Linked DNA regions of Homo sapiens: region 1 is linked to region 2. Evidence: promoter capture Hi-C in 16 types of primary human blood cells and fetal thymus (Javierre and others, 2016). All regions are on one chromosome and are shown on one strand. Each heading gives the region's core, a stretch centred on a gene start or on the middle of the fragment in contact. The rest is flanking DNA. Distances are from core to core; before and after follow the strand shown.

Region 1 (3,622 bases), core at 1,069-3,568, 200 kb after region 2:
GAGTAGAGGAATTTAATTTATCACATCTTTTTTTAGTCATCCTAAAATTTTCCAGAGTTCACAAAGATGTAGCACATAAATCAAGATTGTGACATTTAATGAAAACAATGTCATTGAGTTGTTCCAACAGCATTTTCTAATATTTAGAAATGTTTTGTGCCATGAAGGTAAGATATAAGATTTTATTTCTTGAATTAGTTTTTGGTGTTTGAGTTGAAATGGGCAAACTTTCTTGTGAAGACTTTTGCAGCACTTAATTCTCCTCTCTACCAAGTTCCTTGATGTCTTCCTCCTGTCCCACCTGCCTTCCACTTATAATTTCTGCCAATTTAAGAGAAGTATAAGCTCTTTCCCCCTTTTCTCTTCTTCTGTCAGAATCTGCTATATCTCTTACTCTCTATTTATTCCTCTATCCATTCATTTAATAAATGTTGACTGAGGACTGCTGTGTACCAGGCACAACATTAAATTCTGGGAATGCGGCAGTGAACAGAACAGCCTTGGCTTCTGCCCCTGTGGGATTTACGCTCTCAGTGGGGAAGGCAAATGTGATATAAATAATTACAAATATTAGCTAGAGCCTTTCGGCTTTATCTCATTTGTTAAGCTAATGACATCTAAACTGTTGGCTGCTAATGACTTAACATCTTATTCTTCCCAGATAACATTTCCCGCGAAAAGACTTTAGCACCTTACTTTGAGAAGAAAGGATGAAGTGGAGGGGGAGGAGTTTCAAAAGGAGATCTATTTGTGGAGGGGACGTTTTCTGACATTAAAAAATTATAATATGTAGCTAGATGCCTACTCCACCTGACCAAATTGTCCTCTTATGCTAAAAAACATTGGTTTCAGGTCCTTTGTATAGGATTGTCCAACATGCAGCATATATCCTAATGGTGGGATGCAAGATGTATTAGGTAGTTGAAGCAGATATGGTTAGTGCCCTAAGCAAACTACCTAGGCACTTGCAGTTCCTCGCTGTGCTGATGGCTTCTGTTTTTTGTTTGTTTGTTTTTTGAGACGGAGTCTCGCTCTGTCACCAGGCTGGAGTGCAGTGGCGCAATCTCGGCTCACTGCAATCTCCGCCTCCCGGGTTCAAGCGATCCTCCTACCTCAGCCTCTCGAGTAGCTGGGACTACAGGCGCCCGCCACCATGCCGAGCTAATTTTTTGTATTTTTAGTAGAGACGGGGTTTCACCATGTTGGTCAGGAAGGTCTTGATCTCTTGACCTCGTGATCCGCCCACCTCGGCCTCCCAAAGTGTTGGGATTACAGGCGTGAGCCACCGCGCCCGGCCCGGCCTGTGCTGACGGCTTCTTAACTGCAAATGTCTGTAACTCAGATTGCAGGAGCTGGCTTGCCCACCTTCACAGCGGGCCTGCAGTGGTAGGAGTTAATGGTCACATCCACGAGAGTAGCTTTCAAAGAATGACGAAGGGAAGATGGTGGGTAAAACTCTGAGGCTCATTCTCCAGCTTTCTTAGGGGGTCCGCAGGGATGCAACCCCAAAGACCGTAATGCTCCCTGGATTGACTTTCCTCTCTTCACACTTATTTCCCCGGCCCCCTAGTGGTGCTTCTTGGGAACACCTCTCAAATAGATGATTTGTACTCTAGTCCTAGTCTCAACCCAACCTAAAACAATGGCACATGGGCACATACTTTTATTTTAATGGCCATGTGTTTTAACATGTATTAGAAAAAATATAAATTGCACACCGTATCTGTGATTTCATGGATATTAGTGAAGCTTAAGTTTCAAAAGTGAGTCAATTTAAACCGAAGTGGAAAGTAATGGTATTCGGGTATTTGACAAATCACAAAGGGAGAGTGTGAATGGGGGATAATTGTATTAGAGCTTGAGGTTACCTGTAAACTGGAGCGCTTCCAGCTTTCTGGAATAAACTCAAGGACACTGGTCCTTAATTCAGTGTTCCTGAAAAGACTCCCAGGGGCTCACCAGCCCTTGAGAGATTATGCAAAGTTTTATGTATTTGGATCCTCTTCCTCCCAAAAGTTCATTTGCCTTAGTCTTAGAAAGGCATATTTCACTCAAAGTCAAGAGAGAGAGAGAGAGAGGAAAAAAAAAAGGAAGGAAGAGAGGGAGAGGGGGAGGACAGGCAGACACTCTGTTTTTCTATTTTATTAATGTAATTCAGATCTCTGTTTCTGTTGCAAAAAAGCAAAAAATAAAACAAAGGAGAGGAATGAGGAGATGGAGCCCTGATCCAAATAACAACAACAACAAAAAAAGTGTCTGTAGAATTGGGTTACTGGATGACTTCGGGGAGATGAGCTATCCATCACCACCCGCATCCTCAATAAAAAAACCTGGAAATATCTTCTGAGGATTTTTGCTTGTTAGGAAGGATGGCTATAGCCCAAGAGCAGCATCTGTATACAATGAGTGAAAAAATATTTGGTAACAAAGATCCATTAAACACCCAAATCTACCAAGTATCAGATGGCAAGATAAATGAGATTTTTGTACATGCAAAGCAAATTTTATATAAACAATAACCAAGGCAGTTCCTGTTGCTTCATAAAGCAGGACTTCTGTTAATAGCAGAAACAGCAAATACAGAAAACCAAGCCAATGCATTTTAATGCCTGATTTTGATGCATTAAAAAAATCAAGAAATTCAACAATTCACAGCCAATTGTATATTCATGCCACCCAGACTGAATTAGGATTAGAATCAGCTGTGAGCAACAGAAAATCCAAAATAATGAGTGGTGGAACAAAGATGGAAATTTATTTTTTTCATGTGAAAGTCTGAGTAAATGGTCTAGGGGCTGGTGTGATTATTCATAATACCAGGGAACATTGAATGGCTTCTCCAGTTCAAGCCATCATGTCCCCATTCCAGCCAGCAGAAAGGAGGAAAAGAAGCTTCCCTATAAGGACACTTCTGTGATGTTGCATACACCACTTCCTCTTACATTTCTTTGCCTAGAACTTAATAACTTGACCACACCTATCTGCAAGAGAGGGTAAGAAATGCAGTTATTATTCTGGGAGTTCATATGCTCAGCTAAAAATTCTCTTGCTGTGGAAGAAGAGAATAGATATTGGGTAATACCAGCAGTCTCATCTACCCAGATTTCGTACATATTGGTAGTTCTAAGTAGTTAACTTTGGCATGATACTCAACTGTAAGTCTTATTTAATGTGTCAATGAAATTGCTTGACCCTAATCACCCAGTTTTTAAAGCTGCCTCTAATTAAATCTTTTCTGACATCCACAAATAAAGCATATTTTTCATTTTGAGTATCTGTCTACTTGATGCTGGACAAAATTCGGCCCACCTAGAATAGCAGGTATAGTTTGTGGGTTATCGAAACCCTTTGTTCTCTCTCCTTTTCTGTTCAACATACTTGTGGCCACTTTCCCATTAGTTAAAGTCTGAAATAGAGAAAGAAAGATTTAAAAAAGAAATAAAGTCTAATCAGATGTTTTGTTCCTTTTCAGCAACATTTCTCCAGGGCTAAAGTAGAAGAGATTAGAAATAAGTAACATTAAGTTTTGGGATTTATCTGTCATAAAAACAGTCCTTTAGGCCAGTTGATGAGCAAAGCCCTTTTCACTGCCATCTGTAATTGTGGCTGCAGCCCTGTGAAG
Region 2 (2,760 bases), core at 1-2,500:
TCATTTAAAAAGTATGAAATTAATGTTTGACTTCACAAAGGAGAGAACTTACCATATCCGGAGCCACCCTAAAAACAGAAAGAAAAAAATAGAAAATTACTTTGCCGTTGTAATTACTACCGGTACTTTAAAAAAATTCATTTAATAAAATGGAGTCTTGCTATGTTGCCCAGGCTGGTCTCAAACTCTCGGGCTCAAGTGATCCTCCTGCCTCAGACTCTTTTGTAGTTGGGATTATGAGTGAGCACCACTGCACCCAGCTTCACTATTCAAGTATTTTAATCTCATAAAATCCCTCTTCAGGAAACCAAAGTCCTCCTGTATCCTATTTTCAGTAAGTATCCTCAGGGGAATAAAAAACTTACTGGAGAGCAGGTAAGCATCTTAAATTATCACTGATATACACACGAACAACTATGATACTCAACCTGTGGTTCATAAGCCATCTGCCATTCTGATGGGCTCCATGTATCTATTGCAGAGTCCCAAGTTTCATCAGCACTGAAACCAACCTGTTAGAGATAAAAACATTAACATGAACCCGCATTGTATTTTGTTATAGAGCTGTTTTTAATATGCCTAATTTGCATGTTACATTAAAACAAAAGAGGGTACATATATAGGCAGCAATTTTGTAATCGAGGGGAACAAAGCTCAATAAAGTCGTAATCCTCCAGCAGCAAATAACAGAATTATTTAACTAGTAATCCAAACAAAATTTACTTGTAAGAAAAACTTTTTAATCACTATAACCTTCAACAAAACGTGAACTACATTGTGACAACCCTCACATACCCAACACACTGGTAATAAACCAAAGTTCTTACCATGCCGTCGTAACGGTCTCCAGGTCTCCCTCTTCTGTCATAGGCCATGAGGTCTCTGCAAGCATAGTACTTGTTGTAATCTAAACGTGCTTACATGCCACACATATCAAATCAAAGTCTACCTTGTCTACCACTAAGTGCAGCCTCTTGCAGGTTAATAATTCATAGATGGGGGAAGAAAAAACAACAACAACAAAAAAAACAACTTACCCCCCTCTAGGTGGTGGTGGTGGAGGAAGAGGAAGATTCCGAGCTCTGCTACCACCCCGGCCGCCTCGTCCGGGAGGAGGGGGAGGTGGTCCTCGACGAGGGCTCATATCATCATAATCTCTTCTAGATGGAGGCATGGGACGCCCACCCCGACCAGGAGGCATTCTGTCAAAACCACCTCTTCCCCGCATGGGAAATCCCACTGGGCGTCCGCGACGGTCATCAAACATCATTGTAAAACCACCATAATCATAGGTTTCATCGTAAAAATTGGGATCATAAGGCTGTGCACGTCCTTTGATGGGAGACTAAAAACAGAGATGGAACAAACTTACAGACTGAAGAAAAAGAGTCCTGCTTCATACCAATCCTTCTAACATCATCATCAAACAAAATGTAAGTCATTCCCCCATCAGGAGGTACTAGAGACAGAAACAGGAATTATGTCAACGCTAAAAGTAGCAAAGTAAAGATTCCAAAGAAATCCAATACTTTTGGCAAATGCTAAACAAAAGTGAGTTCTATTGCCTATACAGGGAGAAGTAATAGCTTGCTCTTACACTTAGATCGTAAGAAACCACAAAGCCCTCCCATTTTACACATGACAAACTACAATGCACATTTCACAACAAGGGCTGAAGAGATCAGTCTTGGCAAGCCTGTAATCCATACTGAGGCACCTGAGATAGGAAGCCCTGCAGCATAGTTACAAAGACACAAGCAACACTATAGGAAATTCATTCAAAGGCTCAAAGGCTATAGAAATACCACCAACAAATTACCACTCTCCACTTTTTCAAAACCATTTTTAAATTAAAGTGATGGCTGAAGCCAGGTGATAGAAAATTGCTAGGGAAAGGGCAAATAAAGACTATTAGACTAAATGCTCTGAAGCTACTTTTGCAGAAGGTTATCACTTTGTTTCATAAAATCAAATGTAAACAAAAAGTGTTCTGAAGTACCTCAGATATAAGATCAAGGATGATCTTTATGCACTCTACAACCCTATCGGGTTTTCCTCCAATAAGAACAACTCTGTCAGTGGAATGAGGACAGCATTCCTGGAAAAGCTTGATGGTGGTTTGAGTGTTCTGTAGTAAGATCATAAAAAAAAATAATAATAATTAGAAGAAAATTAGCTTTCCTAGGTTCAGTGAAAATTGCATTTGAATTCAACAATTAACCCCCCACAATATAAAAACTTCATTAATTATCACAGGGCTTTGCAATGGTATAAAAATTTTGACAAAATAACATGTCTAGCAGTGCCAGACATTTTTTGTCATTTGCGATAAGCAATCTTTGGAGGGAACTGAGAGGGGAAGCGAGAGAAGCTCACAGAAACAAGTCTATATGAAAATTTACTTTCCAGCAAAGAATACGGCAGAATTTTTTTTTTTTTACCTCTCGAAGTTCTTTGATTTTAGCACCTTTGACCCCAATAATTCCTCCTGCTAGACTCTGATGAATCAACAGCCTCAACTCGCAGTCAAAGTCACTTCCTTTATAGTGTTGGTACTGTGGAGGGAGAATTATAAAATTTTAGTCTCAAATCAACAATTCCCCAATACACACTTATCTGCTATAAGCATAACAATAATATACTGTTGCAGTGAGCAACCTGAATTTATATTTCAATAACTTTACCAGTTATGTGCTTATTATCCTCAATAGCCAGGCCCAAAAAGGACATTCTGCACCACCTTAAAAAACTATTTTATTT

What was found. Contacts are between HindIII fragments. The CHiCAGO score rates a contact against its expected background, and 5 or more counts as called.
Region 1: a fragment that was not itself captured here is called in contact with the fragment with the promoter of HNRNPK-AS1 in region 2 in 5 of 17 cell types (naive CD4 T cells, total CD8 T cells, M1 macrophages and 2 more); the score reaches 7.8 in naive CD4 T cells.

What each region holds. Positions count from the first base shown.
Region 1 is chr9:84,171,717-84,175,338 of GRCh38, forward strand. No RefSeq gene overlaps it. Among named protein-coding and RNA genes, the nearest start is that of SLC28A3-AS1, 100 kb to the right of the region's middle. RefSeq lists an enhancer at 1,263-1,772. The HindIII fragment of the contact is 1,143 bases long and covers 1,748-2,890 here.
Region 2 is chr9:83,970,845-83,973,604 of GRCh38, forward strand. It overlaps HNRNPK-AS1 (HNRNPK antisense RNA 1), which reads left to right and starts at 1,251. Exons shown (of 2, transcript NR_186535.1): 1 at 1,251-1,433. HNRNPK (heterogeneous nuclear ribonucleoprotein K) reads right to left here. Exons shown (of 17, transcript NM_031263.4): 9 at 2,442-2,555; 10 at 2,000-2,128; 11 at 1,038-1,345; 12 at 828-882; 13 at 429-512; 14 at 53-68. The HindIII fragment of the contact is 2,844 bases long and covers 1-2,105 here.